Linked DNA regions of Homo sapiens: regions 2, 3, 4, 5, 6 and 7 are each linked to region 1. The links are contacts of gene promoters, found by promoter capture Hi-C in blood cells and fetal thymus (Javierre and others, 2016). All regions are on one chromosome and are shown on one strand. The core of a region is centred on a gene start or on the middle of the fragment in contact, and the rest is flanking DNA. Distances in the headings are between cores, read along the strand shown. Region 1 holds the start of FCHSD2 (FCH and double SH3 domains 2). Region 2 overlaps FCHSD2 (FCH and double SH3 domains 2). Region 3 overlaps FCHSD2 (FCH and double SH3 domains 2). Region 4 overlaps FCHSD2 (FCH and double SH3 domains 2). Region 5 overlaps FCHSD2 (FCH and double SH3 domains 2). Region 6 overlaps FCHSD2 (FCH and double SH3 domains 2). Region 7 overlaps FCHSD2 (FCH and double SH3 domains 2).

The links. The method cuts DNA at HindIII sites, captures the fragments that hold promoters and counts their contacts. A CHiCAGO score of 5 or more calls a contact.
Region 2: a contact is called between a fragment that was not itself captured here and the fragment with the promoter of FCHSD2 in region 1, in 11 of 17 cell types (naive B cells, M2 macrophages, total B cells and 8 more). The highest score is 12.2, in naive B cells.
Region 3: a contact is called between a fragment that was not itself captured here and the fragment with the promoter of FCHSD2 in region 1, in 8 of 17 cell types (M2 macrophages, M0 macrophages, naive B cells and 5 more). The highest score is 8.3, in M2 macrophages.
Region 4: a fragment that was not itself captured here is called in contact with the fragment with the promoter of FCHSD2 in region 1 in 16 of 17 cell types (total B cells, naive B cells, M0 macrophages and 13 more); the score reaches 16.5 in total B cells.
Region 5: a contact is called between a fragment that was not itself captured here and the fragment with the promoter of FCHSD2 in region 1, in 14 of 17 cell types (naive B cells, total B cells, M1 macrophages and 11 more). The highest score is 20.3, in naive B cells.
Region 6: a contact is called between a fragment that was not itself captured here and the fragment with the promoter of FCHSD2 in region 1, in 7 of 17 cell types (naive B cells, total B cells, M2 macrophages and 4 more). The highest score is 13.2, in naive B cells.
Region 7: a contact is called between a fragment that was not itself captured here and the fragment with the promoter of FCHSD2 in region 1, in 1 of 17 cell types (naive B cells). The highest score is 5.5, in naive B cells.

What each region holds. Positions count from the first base shown.
Region 1 is chr11:73,140,882-73,143,633 of GRCh38, forward strand. FCHSD2 (FCH and double SH3 domains 2) reads right to left here and starts at 1,437. Exons shown (of 20, transcript NM_014824.3): 1 at 976-1,437. The coding sequence starts at 996. RefSeq lists enhancers at 1-34, 35-656, 156-385, 2,256-2,365, 2,446-2,585 and silencers at 566-705, 1,106-1,485, 1,646-2,025. The HindIII fragment of the contact is 9,673 bases long and covers 1-2,752 here.
Region 2 is chr11:72,892,611-72,895,642 of GRCh38, forward strand. All of the region lies in intron 10 of FCHSD2 (FCH and double SH3 domains 2), which reads right to left. Among named protein-coding and RNA genes, the nearest start is that of ATG16L2, 80 kb to the left of the region's middle. The HindIII fragment of the contact is 7,920 bases long and covers 1-3,032 here.
Region 3 is chr11:72,932,273-72,935,236 of GRCh38, forward strand. All of the region lies in intron 8 of FCHSD2 (FCH and double SH3 domains 2), which reads right to left. Among named protein-coding and RNA genes, the nearest start is that of ATG16L2, 120 kb to the left of the region's middle. The HindIII fragment of the contact is 420 bases long and covers 1,454-1,873 here.
Region 4 is chr11:72,916,599-72,919,527 of GRCh38, forward strand. The region is part of intron 9 of FCHSD2 (FCH and double SH3 domains 2); the gene reads right to left. Among named protein-coding and RNA genes, the nearest start is that of ATG16L2, 100 kb to the left of the region's middle. The HindIII fragment of the contact is 2,179 bases long and covers 178-2,356 here.
Region 5 is chr11:72,949,825-72,952,558 of GRCh38, forward strand. All of the region lies in intron 8 of FCHSD2 (FCH and double SH3 domains 2), which reads right to left. Among named protein-coding and RNA genes, the nearest start is that of ATG16L2, 140 kb to the left of the region's middle. The HindIII fragment of the contact is 1,833 bases long and covers 391-2,223 here.
Region 6 is chr11:73,007,903-73,010,983 of GRCh38, forward strand. The region is part of intron 4 of FCHSD2 (FCH and double SH3 domains 2); the gene reads right to left. Among named protein-coding and RNA genes, the nearest start is that of FCHSD2, 130 kb to the right of the region's middle. The HindIII fragment of the contact is 1,231 bases long and covers 1,056-2,286 here.
Region 7 is chr11:72,988,787-72,991,665 of GRCh38, forward strand. FCHSD2 (FCH and double SH3 domains 2) reads right to left here. Exons shown (of 20, transcript NM_014824.3): 6 at 178-311. Among named protein-coding and RNA genes, the nearest start is that of FCHSD2, 150 kb to the right of the region's middle. The HindIII fragment of the contact is 2,817 bases long and covers 1-2,714 here.

The DNA of each region.
Region 1 (2,752 bases), core at 187-2,686:
GGACCACCCGGAGGGGTGGGGGTACATGTTCGAAAGAAAAGGACTCACTTAAATGGAGAAACCCGGATTAGGAAAGAGAGAAAGCAGCGGCAGCAGACACGGGTGAGTTAGGCGTTAGGCAAATGTTTGCCCACGAGGGGAGGACAGAACGGCCTCATCCACCCAGTGCCCAGAGTAGACATTCAGTATCCATCTGTAGGATTAAAAAGACAAGGACACAGCCTCGGCCCCTGGGAAAGCTGGGGAAGGGCGCAGCGGGGAGACTGATGACAAGCCGGGTGCATCCGTCACTCCCACCCTGGTCATCCAACCCCGGATCGCAGTGCACACCCCACGCACCTCCCGGGCCCGGTCCTCGCTTTTCTGAAGACAGCACGACAGCCTCCTCGCCCCTCAGCCGGGGACGAGGCAGGACCCGTCAATCCTTAATTTGTTTTCCCTTGGGGTGGGGAGGCGGTGACTATTCCAACTTCTTTTCGGCCGCCCCGTGGGAAAAGCAGGCCAAACCCTAAGGCTAGGCTAGAAACAAATCCCCCGCAAATTTGCAAACGGGCGGGGCTGGCGACAAGCGGCTGGAGGGCTCAAAGCTGGTGCAGACTAAACAATCACACACGCACAAGGCTCTGCAAAGCTGCAGGGGCGTCCCCGCCTCCCCCTCGGTGCAGCCCCGAGAATGCACTTTGCAGCGGGCAGCATTGCCATGCGCGCGCACACACACAAATGCACACCCGAAACTCTTGTGAAATGTCTGGGGGTCTCCTGCGTTAGAGGACGGACGAGCCCCGGCGGCCCCTCTGTCGGAAAGGCAACTCACACGCGCGCCCCCCACCTGGAGCCGGCGGCAAGTCGGTGACAAGCCCAAGACGAGGGCGGTCACGGCCCCTTGCGGGAGGGGGAAGGGGCGCAGCGGTCGCCCCAGCCGCGTTCCGCGTACGCATCTCTCCGAACCCCAAAGCCCCCCAGCTGCGCCCTTACCTTCCTCGGCGGCGGCTGCATGATGCTGAAGGGACATCAATCCTCCCCGACGGCAGCGTTAGCAAGGACCAGGAGGAGGAGGAGGGCCGGAGAGGAGGGGACGGCCCAGCGAGCGCGCGCGTGTGTGAAAGGAGCGCTTAAGAAGCAAGACTTGCCCCGGAGGGAGCAGGCCAGCGGGCGGCAGGCGGACCCCAGCCAGAGAGCGAGTGTGAGGAGACGAGGGAGGAGCACCGGGAAGGCTTGGGGCCCGGGCGGCCCGGGCGGCCCGGGGGTGTGTGAGGAAGGAGGCGGAGACGGCGAGGGGGCGGGGGCCCCAGGAGCAGGGGCGCGAGGGTCTCAGCCGGCCGGGCGGCGGGTTAGCCGCAGCCGCGTTGTCCGCGCTCCCGGTCGGCCGCCTGCGCCGCCGCTCCCGGCGGACGCAGCGGCCCCCACCCCACCCACTCAGGCGGCCCGGCCCTCGCTGGGCCTAACGCCCCCGCCCGCCCGGGAGGAGGAAGGTGGCGCCGCTCTCCCCGCTAGGGCTCCACCACTCAGGCCGCGGGAATTTCCGGCCTCGCCGCGCGGCGCAGCGCCCCGCTCCGGATGCTGAGGGAACCGCTCTGTCCAGAGCGGGGTTCGAGGGGCCGGTCCGGGCTGCCAGGAGGGAGCTAGGCCACGGCACGGGGCTTCGTACCGCGGCAGGGGAAGGGGGAAGCTAACGGATTGGTCGGTGGGTGGGAGGTGTAGAAACGCCAGCGCCACGCGAAAATCCCCCCTTTCTCTCCGAGAGTGGCACGTTCCAGACGCCTCCTGCCCTCCCTCCCCCACGCTGGGAGCCAGCCGGGGGCTTCCCGCGCGCTTTCCCGCCAGCTCGCCCCGGCGCGCGCGTCTCCGCTCGGGGGCGCGCACGTGGGCGGGAGAGGGCTCCGCGCCGACGCACGCGCACAGGCCGCCCCCGCCTCCTGCCTGCCTTTGCGTGTGTGTGTGTGTGTGTGTGTGTGTGTGTGTGTGTGTGTGTGTGTGTGTGTGTGTGTGTCGGGGGGCGCGGGGGACGACGCTCGCAGGGAAACGTTTGCAGTGGGGAGGGGGGCGCAGCATGCCTGTGGGATACGAGAATTCCGGCGTTTTCTTCCTCTCAGCCCCTCAACACCCTACTCTCCCTACCAGCTAGATGTGCGCGAGAGAGGCGAGCAAGGACAAGTCGCTTTGCGGCTGGCCGCAGGTGCCAGGCCATTGCGATTGTAGGGCGGAAAGGCAGTTGCTCTGCAAAGGAAACGGCGGCACTCTACTGCAGGGCATTCAAGTCAAACATCACTGACTCCGCTGAGAGGGAGCCAAGAGAACGTTAAGGCCGAGGCCCCCGTTTCACAGACGGGGAGGCAAGTGCCCATAGAGGGAAGCCTTTCTAAAGGTTACACAGCAGGACTAGAATCTGCGTCAGGAAGTGTTCTATGGGTTATTTTAAAAAAGAAACAGGTGCAGGATAATAAGCACGAGGAAAAGTAGAAGAGGCAGGAGAGGCCATAGAGGAAGCCCTTGTCTGGGAGTCAGGATCTCTGGGTGCCAGTCCACTTTGCCTGCTCCTTAACAGGCTAGGTGAGCTCGGCTTCCTTATCTGCCAGTGAGGGTGCTTATCTAAGCAGTGCACCCCACCACCACACATGAACCTTCCTGCTCTGTTCAGACCATCTACGGGGGAGTTTATCGACCTCCCTTGGGGTCCTCAGAAGAGGAATACCTCTTCCCCATGCCCAGGGAGGTTTTTTTTTTTTTTTTGAGTCACGGGGCTGTGTGGAGG
Region 2 (3,032 bases), core at 245-2,744, 250 kb before region 1:
TTTTTGTTTTTTGAGACAGAGTCTCACTCTGTTGGCCAGGCTGGAGTGCAGTGGCATGATCTCAGCTCAGTGCAACCTCCACCTCCTGGGTTCAAGTGATCCTCCTGCCTCAGCCTCCCAGGTAGCTGGGACTACAGGCATGTGCCACCATGCCCAACTAATTTTTTGTATTTTTAGTAGAGACGGGGTTTCACCATGTTGGCCAGGATGGTCTCGATCTCTTGACCTCGTGATCCACCCGCCTCGGCCTCCCAAAGTGCTTGGATTACAGGTGTGAGCCACCGTGCGTGGCTGGTAATTTTTTTTTTAAGACAGTGATATTAGCAGTGGTCGATTCTAACAAAGAAACCGTAATGACTGCTTCTTTTTAAAATGCTGGCAAATTTATTTTTATTTTTAATTTTTTGAGACAGAGTTTCACTCTGTCACCCAGACTGGAGTGCAGTGGCATGATTTTAGCTCACTGCAACCTCTGCCTCTCGGGTTCAAGAGATTCTCATTCCTCAGCCTCCGGAGTAACTGGGATTACAGGGCATGTACCACCATGCCCAGTTAACTTTTTGTATTTTTAGTAGAGATGGGGGTTTTGCTATGTTGGCCAGGCTGGTCTCGAACTCCTGTCCTCAAGTGATCCACCTGTTCTTGGCCTCCCAAAGTGCTGGGATTACAAGCATGAGCCTCCACGCCTGGCCTAGATCATTCTTTTAACATTTTTCTTTTTGGAAGACAGGTTCTCACTCTATTGCCCAGGCTGGAGTGCGGTGGTGCAATCATGGCTCACTGCAGCCTTGACCTCCCAAGCTCAAGCAATCCTCCCACCTCAGCATCCCAAGTAGCTGAGACCACAGCATATGCCATCACACGCAGATAATTTTTTTGATTTTTAGTAGAGATGAGATCTCACTATGTTGCCTAGGCCATCTCAAACTCCTGGCCTCAAATGATCCTCCTGCCTTGACCTCCCAAAGTGCTGGGATTAGAGGCATGAGCCACTATGCCCAGCCCAATATTTTTCCTTTATCTTTTAAAAATGTATTTGATACAAAAATTAGCTAGGCGTGGTGGCGCCGGAGGTTGCAGTGAGCCAAGATCGTGGCACTGCACTCCAGCCTAGGCTACAGAGGGAGACTCTGTCTCCAAAAAAAAAAAAAACTCTAGTCCCTTTAGAATAAAATATTACAATAAAGTCTTTTCAACATTCATAAAGTTATTAAATAACTTTGAAGAACTAAATTAAGGAAATCAGCATTCCAATATTCTTGATATATTAGTCTTTAAGTCATCTTAACTATTTTGTCCTTAGATGCTCTCTCAAGATATGATTTTGTTTTATTTTAAGGTTAATACAAAGGCATAGAAGGCTCAGATATCTGAGCAGAGTGAGCAGCGATAGAAAAGCTGACTTCGCAGAAGAAAACAATCAGTTTTTTAACTCTGTAACTAAAATATAACCATTTCAAGGAGAGAAAAAGAGATGGTCATGTATGATGAATGAAAATCACTAACAGTAAAATACTAGCATTCCAAACCATTTCAAAAAAAGATAGTGTTGGGGTTGTTAGGCCAATGGCATAACATTCTAGTTAACCCTCATTCAGGGAATTTGTACTACTTACATTTTTCAGTTTACTGAGAGACAAGAAATATACTGGGGCTGGGCACAGTAGCTCACACTTACAATCCCAGTGTTCTGGTAGGCCAAGGCAGAAAAACTGCTTGAGGCCAGGAGTTTGAGACCAGCCTGGGCAACATAGCTAGACCCCAGCTCTTAAAAAAAATTAGCACATACCTGTAGTCCTATCTATGGGAGGCTGAGGCAGGAGGATTGTTTGAGCCCAAGAGATCAAGGCTGCCAGGAGCTATGATTGTGCCCTCCAGCCTGGGTGACAGAGCTTCTCAAAAAATATATATTAATATATTGAGTTAAATATTGGATCCATCTTATTCTTTATGAAGTATATTAATATATGGTTAATTATTTCAATAAAGTTATTAATTATTTATCCTCAAAAGGACTTCTTCAAGTAAAAAGCATCTGGATCTCTGTATTCCAACTACACGTTTGTACAGGTTCACAATCCCACAATTCTGAAATTCAAAATGCTCTGAAAAAGAATAAGTATTTTTTGGTAAGTTTGGAGCCAAAACTCACTTGAGCCAAAATGTGATTTGAACTAATAAGAGGTTATTTATAGTTTTTTCTTTCATATATACATATATGAATGAAAATATTCATATGTTTCACTGCAAAAATACTATGTTTGGTCACAGGTGCTTCCCCATACATTGCTCAGGGTTTTATGCAATGTATGGTATATGGGTCACTTTTCTAAAATCTGGAAAATTCTGAATTTTGACATGTATTTGGCCCAAGGCTTTTGGTAAGAGACTGTAGACTTTTAAGTCACATATTTCAAATATGCCACACACCTTGAAGAGGAGTGGAACAGTGCCTCTTAAGAGACATAATTTAACTTATTCTGACTATGCTAGGATAGCAGAACCTTCACTTGGAAAGAAGTGGGAACTCATCTAGATAATTGTTGAGTGTGCCTGGCCTCTCAGGAGAGCACACTGGAGAAGAACTGGTGTGGACTGAGCCTTGGGACAATTCTGGAAAACTCTGGACACCTGGGGAAAAGGAATATACCCATTAAGGCTGGGGTGAAGAAATGATGAGAACTCTGAAAGGAGCTATTCTTTTGTCTTGGATTAAGAGTACCAAAGGCAAACCTTAGCAAAAAATATGTCCCTGAGTAATGACATGAAAGTAAAACAAAAATGGCATAAAAACCTTGCGTCTAACACTTTTGAGAACATACCTAGAGGCATGGTTAGATGGAACAGCCTTATAAAGAGTATGCCTTTATTTTGGTAGCTCTCACAGAGATCTTGCTTTAAGAGCTATAATCACAAGCTAGATAGGGGAACTTTCAGGCTCCTATTGTCAGCACATAACTAATGCGTCTATGCAAAGATCTAGTTACTCTGGATGGTTAGACAAGGAACCAGATCAGGAGAAAGGTGACTAA
Region 3 (2,964 bases), core at 414-2,913, 210 kb before region 1:
TTGCCCTGCATCCAACTCTCCCTCTCACCAACTCATTTCCACTCTGCAGCTAGGAGGATGTTTCTAAATTGTGTATTTTACTTGACTGCTCTACACTGTTCACTGGCTACTCATCACATTTAGGAAAAGGCTTTTAAAAAAATCATTACAGACCACATTATCTGAACTTGGCATACCTCTTCAGCTTCTTCACTTATTACTCACTCCCCATTCTCCTTCCGTATTACACCTTCTCTACAATGCAGTTTTTGGCTTCTCCAATACTCCTTTTTTGCCTCTGAGCTTTCACACAGGCTTTTCTTCTGCCTTGACTACTCTCTGCTTTCTCTCCCATGGTTTGGCTCACTCTTATCAGCCTTAGTCTCTTCACTTAATCATCTACTTGGATATCTCTATTGTCTTTTTGCTTCATAACTCCTGATCATAGCATACAACCTCATACTGGTGATATTTGTTTGTATGTCCCTCTTTTTGTTTAAGTTCCATAAAGGGAGGCATCAGGTCTGTCTGTTTACCATTCCATCTTCTGTGTTGAGCATAGGGTTTGGCATACTGGTAGTGCTCAATAAATATCTGTTCAACAAATAATAACACCAATCAGAATTCGCATGATTACAAAAAATGAATAAACCTATACTTGAGCCCCATGACTGAGAAATCTAATGATGTTACATAACATTTATAAAATCGTATACAAGTTAAAGGAGTAATTGATTTCATAAAACTCTAATTCAGTAATTTTCAAATATTTTCAGTAGTGGCATCCTTTTATGTGGAATTCCAAGACATAAAATATATATAACCTTGCATGCCTTCTTCTTCCTTCTAGCAACAGATCCTGCTGTCCTGATCTCAGGGGTAAACTTGCAGGGTAGGCAGATATGCAAGACAGAACCTCAAACCACTGTCCTCTGCCCCTAATTACTGGGTGGAGGTGGTCCCTTGACTTAAATTAGGTCATCCCTGGGATAGAGGCTGAAAGATTAATCCAAAAATGGCCTATCCTTCCCACCAAAGTTATTCTTCCTACCAAGCAGATAGTGCCTATCTGTAGTAGGAAAGAATTAAACCAACTCACAGAGAAAAGCAGTGATGAGAAATTTGGCAAAGTGAAGATGGGAATGGTGGGCAGAGGACAGGGACAGTGTCCTTGAATTGGGTAGTTCTTGAGCAAGCACCATCTCATCCTTTCTGTGATTTGGTTACCTTAGCCAACAAATTCCTCTGTTTTGCCTAAGCTACTTTGAGTTGGGTCATTGTTATTTGCAATCAAAAGACTTCTTACTAAAGAGTAATAAATGATACCCAACTTATATTAGCCATATCCAAATTGTGTCTTTTGGTTGCATTGTAAGGAAAAAAAGTTGATTCACATGGACAATAAATTGCAAGTAATAATAATTCAATTGCTTTCCTTACTATTCCTGGTTCTCTTCAATTAAACAGATCTCAAAGCTTAAAGTAGACAATTTTTATGTCAAAGCTGAATTGCAAATACAATCCAAAAGCTGCATATATTTCTTACAAATTTAAAGTAAAGTAAAAACTATTTAGTGCTGGGTACAGTGGCTCATGCCTGCAATTTCAACACTTTTGGAGGCTTAGGTGGGCGTATCACTTGAGCCCAGGAGTTCAAGACTAACTTGGGCAACACAGCAAGACTCCATCTCTACAAAGAATACAAAAATTAGCCAGGTGTGGTGGTATGTGGCTGTAGTCCCAGCTATTCAGGAGGCTGAGGTAGGAGGGCTGCCTGAGCCTGGGAGGTTGAGGCTGCAGTGAGCCATGATCGCGCCACTACACTCCAGCCTGGGCAACAGAGTAAGACACTGTCTCAGAAAAAAAAAAAAAAAAAAAAAAAAGAGCTATTTAAAGCTTACAACAAATCATAAAAGTATCATAACAGTTTGAGAAGGGCACGTATGATGAAGATGCATCTGTATCTTGTCTAGCATTTTACATTTAAATGAGCAAAACACAAGAATGTTCTTTACACTTGTTTAAGTGAACAGACATGCACAAACTTCAATTCAAAGAGACCTCTATGAAGAGCCATGCCTTTTTTTTTTTTTTTTTGAGACGGAGTCTTACTCTGTTGCCCAGGCTGGTGTGCAGCGGCACTATCTCGGCTCACTGCAACCTCCACCTCCTGGGTTCAAGAGATTCTTCTGGCTCAGCCTCCCGAGTAGCTGGGATTACAGGTGCATACCACCATACCCGGGTAATTTTTGTATTTATTAAAGTAGAGACAAGGTTTCACTATGTTGGCCAGGCTGATCTCAAACTCCTGACCTCAGGTAATCCACTTGCCTCGGCCTCCCAAAGTGCTGGGATCACAGGCATGAGCTGCTGTGCTTGGCCATAAATTTCTTAATCAATGATAGAATTCACTTATAAATGCTCAGAAATGGCAGGATAAGCATTCTTTCAAGGTTTATATAAATGTGAGTTAATCTGGCAGTATGAACTCCTTGGTGGTCTCCAATATGCAAAAACTTGGTAGGTAATTTATCCAAATATACTTAAAAAAATAGCCAAACTTTTTGACTATTGGACACAAATTTCTAAGGGAATAATTCTGTAGTAATTGAGAAACTGAGAAACCATGGGACCTTTGACCAGCAATATGTTTTAATGACTCCACAATATTTTTAAACAATTGAATTTGAATGCCTTTAAGCAGCCACGTCCTTTCCAGGTAGCTATTAGGCCACACACTCCCTTACACATTACCTCTGCCCTCTTTATTCATTTTATCTACTTGATCCTTAAAATCAGTTGAGTTTGGAACCTAAACTCCCAAACTCATAATGTTAAATACTCAAAATAGTGAAGAAAAAAAAAGGAATATTCTAAGGACAAATTCAGAAACTTAGAAATCTGGAATGCTCCACTGAACATTTACTTACAGGAAAGTGTAAATGTCCTAGAACTTGTTTGAAGAAGAAGATTATGATGAATTAG
Region 4 (2,929 bases), core at 17-2,516, 220 kb before region 1:
GCCACTGTGCCCAGCCTCCTTTGTTCACTTTTATATTGGGTTGTCTCTGATGTTGAGTTGTAAGAGTTCTTTGTATATTCTGAATATGAAACTTTTATCAGATATGTGATGTGCAAATATTTTCTCTCATCATTTGGGTTGATTTCACATTCTTAATAATGTCCTTTGATGCACAAAAGCTTTTAATTTGATACAGTCTAATTATCTATGTTTTCTTTCGTTACTTGTGCTTTCAACGTCAAATCTGAGAATGCACTGCCAAATCAAGGTCATAAAGATCTATCTCTGTTTTCTCTTATAAGTTAGGTCATTGATCAATTTTGAGTTAATTTTGTGAGGTAAGGGTTCACAACTTCATTGAACTTCATTCTTTTTTTTTTTTTTTTTTTTTTTTTTTTTTTTTTGAAGCAGAGTGTTGCTCTGTCGCCCAGGCTGGAGTGCAGTGGTACGATCTCAGCTCACTGCAACCTCCACCTTTCGGGTTCAAGCGATTCTCCTGCCTCAGCCTCCCAAGCAGCTGGGACTACAGGCACCCACCACCACGCCCAGCCAATTTTTGTATTTTTAGTAGAGATGAGGTTTCACCATATTGGCCAGGCTGGTCTTGAACTCCTGATCTCATGATCCACCCATCTCGGCCTCTCAAAGTGTTGGGATTACAGGCGTGAGCCATCACACCTGGCTTGAACTTCATTCTTTTGCATGTGGCTATCCAGCTGTCCCAAAACCTTTTTCTGAAGAGAATATTCTTTCTCTATTGAATAGTCATGGCACCTTTGTTGCAAATCAATTGACCATAGATGTTCAGGTTTATTTCTGAACTCTCAATTCTGTTTCATTGGTCTATATGTCTATACTTATGTCCATACCACGCTATCTTTACTACTGTAACTTTATAGTAAGTTATGAAATTGGGAAGTGTGAGTCCTCCAACTTTATTTTTCCTTTTCAATATTGTTTAAACTATTCATGGTCCCTTGTAGTTCCATATTAATTCGAAGACTGGGCCGAGTGCAGTGGCTGACGCCTGTAATCCCAGCACTTTGGGAGGCCAAGGCAGGCGGATCACTTGACGTCAGGAGTTCAAGACTAGCCTGGCTAACATGACGAAACCCCGTCTTGACTAAAAATACAAACAAATTAGCCAGGCGTGGTGGCATATGCCTGTAATTCTAGCTACTTGGGATGCTGAGGCAGGAGAATCGCTTGAACCTGGGAGGTGGAGGTTGCAGTGAGCTGAGCTCATGCCATTGCACTCTAGCCTGGGTGACAGAGTGAGACCTTGTCTCAAATTAAAAAAAAAAAAAAATTGAGGACCGGCTTTTCCATTTCTGCAAAAAAGGCCATTGGAATTTTGATAGGGACTACATTGAATCTGTAGATCACTTTGGGGAATATTACAATATTAGCAACATGAAATCTCCCAATCCATGAACATTTATTATATGCATTTATTTATATCTTTTATTTCTTTCAGCAATGTTTTATAGTTTTCAGTGTACAGGCCTTTAACTCCTTTGGTTAAGTTTATTCCTAGATAGTTTATTCTCTGAGTATTATTGTAGTTGGAATTATTTTCTTAACCTTCTTTTTGGATCATTCATTGATGGAATATAGAGATGCAACTGATTTTTGTGTTTTTATCTTATATGTTGCTAAATTTATTAGCTCTATTAGTTTTTTTAATGGGCTCTCTGAGAGTTTATAAATATAATCATGTCATCTGCAAAGAGAGGTAATTTTAATTCTTCTTTTTCAATTTGGCTGCCTTTTATTTCTTTTTCTTACCGAATTGCCCTGTCTAGGACTTCCAGTACAATGGTTAATAGCGGTGGTGAAAATGGGTATCCTTGTTTTGTTCCTGATGTTAGCAGAGGAAGATTTCAGTCTTTCATTATTGAATATGACATTGGTTGATGCTATCATGTTATGTAAGTTCCCTTCTATTCTAGTTTGCTGAGTGTTTATCACAAAAAAGTACTGAATTTTGTCAAATCTTTTTCTGTGTCTATTGAAATGATCATGAAGTTTTTTCCTTCCTTTTATCTACTTTTTTTGGTTAGACTTCGAAGTATTAAGAACAGTAACACTAGACAAATTAATTTTCAAATAAATGTAGAATAACATTGTTATTTTCTGAATTCTTTTTTTAAATTTATTTTTCTGAATTCTTAAATGAACTTTGTTATTAATTGGAAGGCATTTCCTTATGGAGACAAAAAGCAAGCACACACAAACAAATTATAAAGGCCAGTAGAGCTACCTTCAGAGTTACTATCCTAGAGAAAATACCTATGACAACATCTGCTTCAGTTACATATACAAAGCATTTCATAAAATATTAAGAAGAAAAGCAAGCTTCATAAATAATTAAAGTTTAACAAAAGCTCCTAGGGCCATCTGTTTCCATTTAGGGGATGAATGATATAGGAAGCACTTTAACATTTACAGTATGTTGGATGAATTACCACCAAAATATCTTTGGGGATATGTCACATTTTGAACATGGTAATAATAATATAAAATAAAAAAAATCTAAAAAGTGTCAAACTTCCCTTTAGGTTGCTTTCAGCAGCATAGCAAGAGCAGCATAACAAGCTCTTCATAACAGAAAAACACATGGCATAAAACTTGTAGGCCTCTTCTGGTACTTGGAACAAAAGGGCACTACATTATTCTTATTAAATTTTTATTCCTACCACTTTCAATTTAAATGTAAGAGCATCTCATTTATTCCTCATTTCTGGGGAGTGAGATACTCATATGAGTGAATGCAGAAAATGAAAGCTTATCTCTTTATGTGTCCAAACTAGTTCATAAATTCTTAATTCATTTTCTATTAAAATAATACAAGCTAAAGAGAATATAGTAGAAGATCATGGAAAGCACTATGTGTGAGTGTGTAACCTCAGGCCAAGCCACATAAACT
Region 5 (2,734 bases), core at 57-2,556, 190 kb before region 1:
TGCTACAAACATTTGTGTACACAACTTTTTGCTTGAACACTTGTTTTCAGTTCTCTTGGGTATAAATCTAAGAGTGGAGTTTTGGGGTCATATGACAATTCTGTTGGATAGTTTGAGAAACCACCAAATGCTAATGTTCACATCACTGTTTTTCCACAATGGCTGTTCCATTTTACATTCTCACCCAATTTCTCCATCTCCTCACCAACACTTGTTATTTTCTGTTTTTAAAAATTTTAGTCATCCTAGCGGATGTGAAGTGGTATTTCATTGTGATTTTGATTTGCATATTCCTAATGAATAAAGGTATTACTCATCTTTGAGAAAAAAGTCTATTAAAATCCTTGCCCTTTTAAAAAAACTGGGTTATTTGTTTTTATTGAATTGTAAAGCTTCTTTATATATTCTAAATATTAAATCCTTTTCAGATATGTAATTTGCAAATATTTTCTCCCATTCTGTGGGTTGTCTTCACTTTCTCCATAGATTCCTTTGATACACAAAAGTTTTTATTTCTGCAATTTGTCTATTCTTTCTTTGGTTGCTTGTGTTTTTGGTGATATCTGAGAAACTGTTGCCTATTCTAAGTTAACATAGACTTGCATTTTTTTTTTCCCTCAAAGAGTTTTATATAGTTTTAGCTCTTAAGTCTTTGATTCATTTTGAATTAATTTTTATATATGCTGTGAGGTAGAGGTCCAACTTCATTCTTCTTGCATGTGGATATTCAGTTGTGCCAGTACAATTTGTTGAAAGACTATTCTTTCCTCCACTGAATTGTTTTAGTACCTTTGTTGACAATCAGCTACTGATGTATGATTAGTAGTCTTTTGTATTTCCCTTTTTAAAACTGAATTTGTAGTTTTTCCTTATTTCTTTTAGGATATTTTAATTTTTCATTTATAAGAATACTTAACTCCCACATTATCATTTGGCTTCTCAGATATTTAGAGGCAGCACAGGTAGTAGTTGCGGTGGAAACTATTTGTTGTTGTCCGCCAAATGTTATCCCTTTCTTCCTGGGCACATGCTGTGGGACTACACTTCCTAGCCTCCATACCTGCTGTGAGATTGACCACGTGACTAATTCTCTCTAATTCAGTGTGAACAGAAGTAACATTTGCTCCTTTAAGGACTAGATCTTAAGAGAATAGGTGTGTCTTCTCCATGCTCTCTTTCCCCTATCCACTGGCTAGAACTCAAATAAATCAATGACACAGGTTTAGCCAGGCCATGAGAGAAAGTGATGGACTACCCTGCTATCTGAGTCTCTGAATAACTTCATGAGGCAAATGCTACCTATCTACTCCAAACCATTGCATTAGAAATAATTAACACCTATCTTTTGTGAACCACTGCATTTTGGGTCTTCCTATTCTAATTGTTTAGCCTTTATCCTAATTAATACAGGATTAGTATCTGGTGTAGGATATTGCTGTAACAAAAAAACTAATATAGGTGGCATCTGTTAAGTGGCAGAGTTGTAAGCAGTGATGAAACAGATGCTGCAGATTGGGAAGCTGGTAAACCTTGTTACACTATGACAAAACATCTGGCATATGATAACACAGCAAACGAGAGCGACAGATTACGCAGCTCTAGGGCAGAGTTTCTCAACCTTGGCACTGACTTATACGTAAAGCACTTACTACAAGGCTTGGCATTTAGCTCAATAAATGTTTGCTCTGGTGTTATTATTACACATTTCTGAACTGTGGGATTGTAAAATTTATCACCATTTTCCCATATAGTGCTTGCCTTTGCTAGAATCCTTAAAAATCTCACCCCTACACTAAGATCAGATAAATATTCTCCCATGTTTTTCTCTATTACATTTATCTTTAACAAACCTATAACTTACTTTGGCCTGGTTTGATGGAAGAAACAAAATTTTTCTTCCTAAGAGTCTCAATGTCATGACTTTTAAAATCTGTTATTTTCCCATTGATTTGAGGTTTACCCTTTCACAATCTCTTTATAAATTCTTAATATCTAACTGAGATCAATCATGCTTGCTGAGGAAATGAGGCTAGCGTTCAGTATAGCAGAGAAAGTCCTTACTCCCATAAAACTTAGGGAAAATCCTATTTGACAAGAATACTGTAACAGCTATACTCTTTCTTTCACTTACAAGATAACTTTCAGAATCTACATATTGTTGGCATTTTCAACAGGCACACTTCAGGGCATTTTTATTTTTGGCAAGAATCAAAAATTCCCTGAAGCTTCATGGTAGGTCTGCATATGTCTTACCAAATGAAGACAAGATTAGACAGGAAGAGCACCCATGAGTTTAATGCTTGGAAACTCCCTGTGTACTTTAACTTATATTGGTCTTGCTTGGTCACTCAGATGAAGCAACTCTCTCTTCTCTATCTTAATACCAGAAAGATATATATGGCCTATGAAGGAAAACACTAATCTAGTATTAGTCTCTAGTATTTTTAGAGCAAAAACAATTCCATACACTTTTTTGTTTGCTTGTGTTCACCAAGTTTGACTATCTTTTTTTTTTTTTGAGACAGGGTCTCACTCTGTGACCTAGTGTGGAGTGCAGTGGCACTATTTCGGCTCACTGCAACTTCCGCCTCCCGGGTTCAAGTGATTCTCCTGCCTCAGCCTCCTGAGTAGCTGGGATTACAGGCATGTGTCACCACGCCCAGCTAATTTTTATATTTTTAGTAGAGACAAGGTTTCACCATGTTGGCCAGGCTGGTCTCAAACTCCTGACCTC
Region 6 (3,081 bases), core at 421-2,920, 130 kb before region 1:
TTTGTATTTATTATTTCTGACGACTATGTGTGGCTACAATTATCTCAAAGTAAAAAGTGTTTAAGATATAACAAACAAAACCACAGGTCTTCCCTAGGCTTAGAAATACACCTTTCTACTGGCATCACATCTCAAGACAACTCAGGACAATGTGATTAAGGGCTGGCTGCAGTGCCTCACGCCTGTAGCACTTTGAGAGGCTGAGGCAGGCAGATCACTTGAGGCCAGGAGTTTGCGACCAGCCTGGCCAACATAGTAAAACCCCATCTCTACTAAAAATACAAAAATTAGCAGGGCATGGTGATGCACACCTGTAATCCCAGCTACTCAGGAGGCTGAGGCACAAGAATTGCTTGAACCCAGGAGGCAGACATTGCAGTGGGCCAAGACTGTACCACTGCACTCCAGCCTGGGCGACAGACCGAGACTGTCTCAAAACAAAGAAAAGAAAATGTGATTAAGTTCATAACCTAAGAATAATTTATATAATAACTAGTAACAAGAAGAATGGTGTTTTAATAAATGTTCATACATGGTTGTTATTGGTAGTAGAAAGGGAGAATATCCTAAGCCTGGGTAACAGAAATAAAGACAAGGAAAAAGACTGCTTTCAGTCCAGTGGAGGTGTTGATAAGAACTGAAACACAACTGCAACTGAGGTGCCCAAAGGTTGGAAAACCAAGGATGAAAGCAGAAATGGCCAGAGGTAAGTAGAGAGATAATTTGGTGCCAGGTTTCTTCATGGTTTTGAATATCATGAAAAGAAATTTAAATTTATCCCATCGGCAAGGAAAAACAATAGAAGATTTTCAAGCAGGGGAGTGACAGTAGGCCTGTTTTACAAAGATATAAAGATATAGTTTGTGTCATTATAGCAGATGGAATTGTGAAAGAAATCACATGCAAACAAGCAGCTACTTAACATTTCAGATATGAAGAGATCTACAAAGAAGGTAAAATTAGAGGCAGCTTTTTGTTTCCCAAGTTGAAAAGTTAATAAAAATATATTATTATTACCAGTTCATAGTCAAGATTTAAAGACAAGAATATAAATAAGCTTACTTAAAAGTCATTAGAGAGCTGAGGGATTTTTGAGAAGCATTTACATAGAAAGGAATGAAAACCTGTTCTCAAATTTAAAAAAAAAAAAGGTCCAAGAGAAAGTAGTGTTACAAAAGTCTAATGCAAATTGAGGTTTTAATGACATTAAATGCTGCATGTATCATCAGATAGGCAAACAATTTAAAAGACTGATTACATGCACTGTTGGTAAAAAATAAAAACAAAGGGACAATTTAAAATCATACTACAGGCTGGGTGTGGTGGCTCACGCCTGTAATCCCAGCAGTTTGGGAGGCTGAGGTGGGCTGATCACTTGAGATCAAAGAGTTTGAGACCAGCCTGGCCAACATGGTGAAACTCCATCTCTACTAAAAATACAAAAATTAGCCAGGTGTGGTGGCGTACACCTGTAATCCCAGTTGCTCGGGAGGCTGAGGCATGAGAATCACTTGAACCTGGGAGGTGGAGGTTGCAGTGAGCCAAGATCATGCCACCACACTCCAGCCTGGGTGATGGAGTGAGAAGTGTCTCAAAAAACAAAGTCATACTAGAAAAAATTAAATATATTTATACAGTTTATGGGGAACAACTTCCAATATTAATATTTTAGGGCCAGTCTAGTAGTGATGAATTCCCTAACCTTTTGCTTGTCTGGGAAAGAATTTACTTCTCCTTCATTTATGAAGGATAATTTTGCTGAATACAGTACCCTTGGTTGGTAGTTTTTTTTTTCTTTCAGTACTTTGAATATATCATACCATTCTCTCTTGGCCTGTAAAGGTTTCTGCTGAGAAATCTGCTAGTAGTCTCATAGCAGTTCCTTGACAGGTTACTGCATGCTTTTTTTCTTGCTGTTTTTTGAATTCTCTCTTTGTCTTTGATGTTAGATAGTTTGACTATAATGTACCATGGAGAATGCCTTTTTGCATTTCATCTGCCTGGGGGGGTCTCAGAGCCTCCAGTATCTGGATGTCTAAATCTCGTTAGACTTGGGAAGTTTTTGTCTATTATTTCATCAAATAGATTTTTCTAACCTTCCCTTCCCTCTTTGCCATCTGGGAAACCAATAATATGTGTATTTGGTCACTTTATGTTGTCCCATATATCACAAAGGCTTTGTTAATTCTTTCTTATTTTTCTTCTTTTTGACTGCTTGGGTTATTTCATAGGACCTGTCTTCAAGTTTTGAGATCTTCTCTTTTGCTTGATCTAGTCTATTGTTGAAGCTTTCAAATGTATTTTGTATTTCATTCAATGAATTCTTCCATTACAGAATTTCTGTTTGGTTCTTTTTTATATCTCTCTTTGGTAAATTTCTCATTCATATCCTGAATTGTTTTTCTGATTTCTCTGTACTGTTTTTCAGAATTTTCTTGTATCTCATTGAGCTTCTTTAATATCAACATTTTGAATTCTTTTTCCAGGATTTTGTAAATTTGTTTTTTATTGGGATCTGTTACTAGAGAATTATGTTATTCCTTTGGAGTTATATTTCCTTGCTTTTTCATGTTTCCTACATTGATAACTGCACATCTGATGTGATAGTCACTTCTTCCAGTTTTTTGAATTTGCTTCTGTAGGGAATGTTTTCCTGAAGATAGATCTATGGTGTTGTTTGGTAGGGCCCTTTGGCCTTGATTCTGGGTGCTTGCAGTGGTACGGTATCTGTACGATTTCTTTGGCTATGAACAGTGTCAGTGGTGTTTGTAATTTATTCAGTGGTTTCAGGTGCAGTTATTAGTGGGGCCTGTGGTAAAGTTTTGCTGAGGACTGGGGCACCAGGTAGGCCAGTCTTTGAGCCCCAGTAGAGGCAGTGGTGAGTTGGCACTAGTAGTCCAGGTGGGCCAATTCTTGGCCTTCAGGTGGCTTACTCAGATGCTGGTAGTGGCAGCAGTGAGCTGGGTGGGTGGGCAGATTCTTGGGCCTCTGGGCAGCTGGCATAAAACAGCAGTGGCAGTGATGGGATAATCTTCTGGGTCTTGAGCAGTGTATGCTGGTGTTGGTGGTGGCTGTGAGGGG
Region 7 (2,879 bases), core at 56-2,555, 150 kb before region 1:
TCAGATAAAAATCAGCCAATTAAAAAAATGTGACCTAAAGTATATAACACATGTAGGTCAAATGAAACCACCACTACCTGAGAATGGGTCCATGCTCACTACTAATAGAGAACAAACTATTAGCAACAATAACATTTATTTGCATAATAATTTTCTCAGAAATGTTAAAACACATACTTTGCCTCGATGTCAGCTTTCTCTCGTACTGCATGAGCCATCTGTTCAGTCTCAAAGTATTTCTTTTTGCCTTTAGCTAAATCTTTCACTGTCTCTTGTAATTCAGTTTGGATCTTTGTCAACTGGTCCACACACTGTAAAATACAAAAGTACAATCATTATGATTTTAGTTTTCAGGCTTACAGAAAATGACTTCATCCTAAGGACTATACACTATGCCTTCAGGATGGAAATCCAGGGGAAAAGTCAGTACGTTCAGTGTCCTTCAAATTGCAGATTAAAATCCTGTGAATTAAAATCCTGGTATTTCCATCTCAAGTACTACACATCAAACAGTGTCACAGTTTGCCTAACAACCATACATTGAGAAATAACCCGAGTGCTGCTGATGACTGACGTTAAGGTAAGACATGGAAGAGCAACTATGAAAAATGTTCTCACTGTTGGAGATATCATGATAATAAAATCAAAAGAATAAGGCAATTCTGTATTTCCCCATAATCTTAACAAAGTCTCTCTTTATGTTTGGGTAACCGACAGTGCAAAGGGTACTGAAGAATTCACCCCTTAGACAAGAGGGAGTGAAATCTGAGTAGTCTGACTTGGTAAGTCCAAGGTGAACAAGAGAAGCACGAAACCTGGGTACCACATAACAATTATTACTCAAAACCATCCCCTGCCCAACTCCGTGGATACACATATACATTCGAGGAGAAGGGATGGACATAACAACTAAAACAATGTTTAATCAATTAACTCTTATAACACACCGGGGCCAAGCAACACTGCCTCAGGACCTTTCTGAGTATCCAAAGGAGATTGACCCCACTTTGAAACAAACCAATTAGAAGTTTCACCAGCCTGAGACCAGCTTAGAGCAGTTACATCTAAAAACTTCTAAGCCTGAAATAGCACTGGTGGAGACTGGCAAAAGCTCAGCAAAGCAGGAGGAGACACTGGTGAAGGACTATTGTGCAAGGGTGAATAGTGTGGAGGAGGGCAAGGACATCAGAAGAATGAGGATAAAACAAGAATAAACTTAACCATATGACATACAGGCTAGACTTTCCCAGAAGCTGTTAGGTGTTAAGAAAGGACTACAGGGGATGAGACATCTAGAAGATTCTGCATGGACAGATAAAAGCAAAATAACCACTCATATTTATTAAGCACTTAATAAGTGTTAGGCTGTGAAGGAAAAGGTTAAAAAAACACAAAATAAAACAAAACTTTTCCCCTCTGCACGAAACTGGGCCTTTGCTTAACTTTCTAGATCTGTGTTTCAATAGAAACCTGATGAGAAGACACAATGTCAGCTGTGTTATTAGGCAACATTGCTTACAAACCCTGGTAGGCAAACTGCATCAATTTGGGATAAACTAAAAATTAACTATAAATATCTGATAGGAACCCTCCACCCCAAATCAACAGAATATACATTCTTCTCAGCACCACACTGCACTTATTCCAAAACTGACCACATAGTTGGAAGTAAAGCACTCCTCAGCAAATGCAGAAGAACAGAAATTACAACAAAACTGTCTCTCAGACCACAGTGCAATCAAACTAGAACTCAGGATTAAGAAACTCACTCAAAACCACTCAACTACATGCAAACTGAACAACCTGCTCCTGAATGACTACTGGGTACATAATGAAATGAAGGCAGAAATAAAGATGTTTTCTTTGAAACCAATGAGAACAAAGACACAACATACCAGAATCTCTGGGACACATTCAAAGCAGTGTGTACAGGGAAATTTATAGCACTAAATGCCCACAAGAGAAAGCAGGAAAGATCTAAAATTGACAACCTAACATGACAAGGCAAAGAACTAGAGAAGCAAGAGCAAACACATTCAAAAGCTAGCAGAAGGCAAGAAATAACTAAGACCAGAACAGAACTGAACGAAATAGAGACACAAAAAAACCCTTCACAAAAATCAATGAATCCAGGAGCTGGTTTTTTTGAAAAGATCAACAAAATTGATAGACTACTAGCAAGACTAATAAAGAAGAAAAGAGAGAAGAATCAAACAGACGCAATAAAAAATGATAAAGGGGATATCACCACCAATCCCACAGAAATACAAACTACCATCAGAGAATACTATAAACACCTCTACGCAAATAAACTAGAAAATCTAGAAGAAACTGATAAATTCCTCGACACATACACCCTCCCAAGACTAAACCAGGAAGAAGTTGAATCTCTGAATAGACCAATAACAGGCCCTGAAATTGAGGCAACAATTAATAGCTTACCAACCAAAAACAGTCCAGGACCAGATGGATTCACAGCCGAATTCTACCAGAGGTACAAGGAGGAGCTGGTACCATTCCTTCTGAAACTATTCCAATCAATAGAAAAAGAGGGAATCCTCCCTAACTCATTTTATGAGGCCAGCATCATCCTGATACCAAAGCCTGGCAGTGACACAACAAAAAAAGAGAATTTTAGACCAATATCCCTGATGAACATCGATGCAAAAATCCTCAATAAAATACTGGCAAACCAAATCCAGCAGCACACCAAAAGCTTATCCACCATGATCAAGTGGGCTTCATCCCCGGGATGCAAGGCTGGTTCAACATACGCTGATCAAGTGGGCTTCATCCCTGGGATGCAAGGCTGGTTCAACATACGCAAATCAATAAACATAATCCAGCATATAAACAGAACCAACGACAAAAACCATATG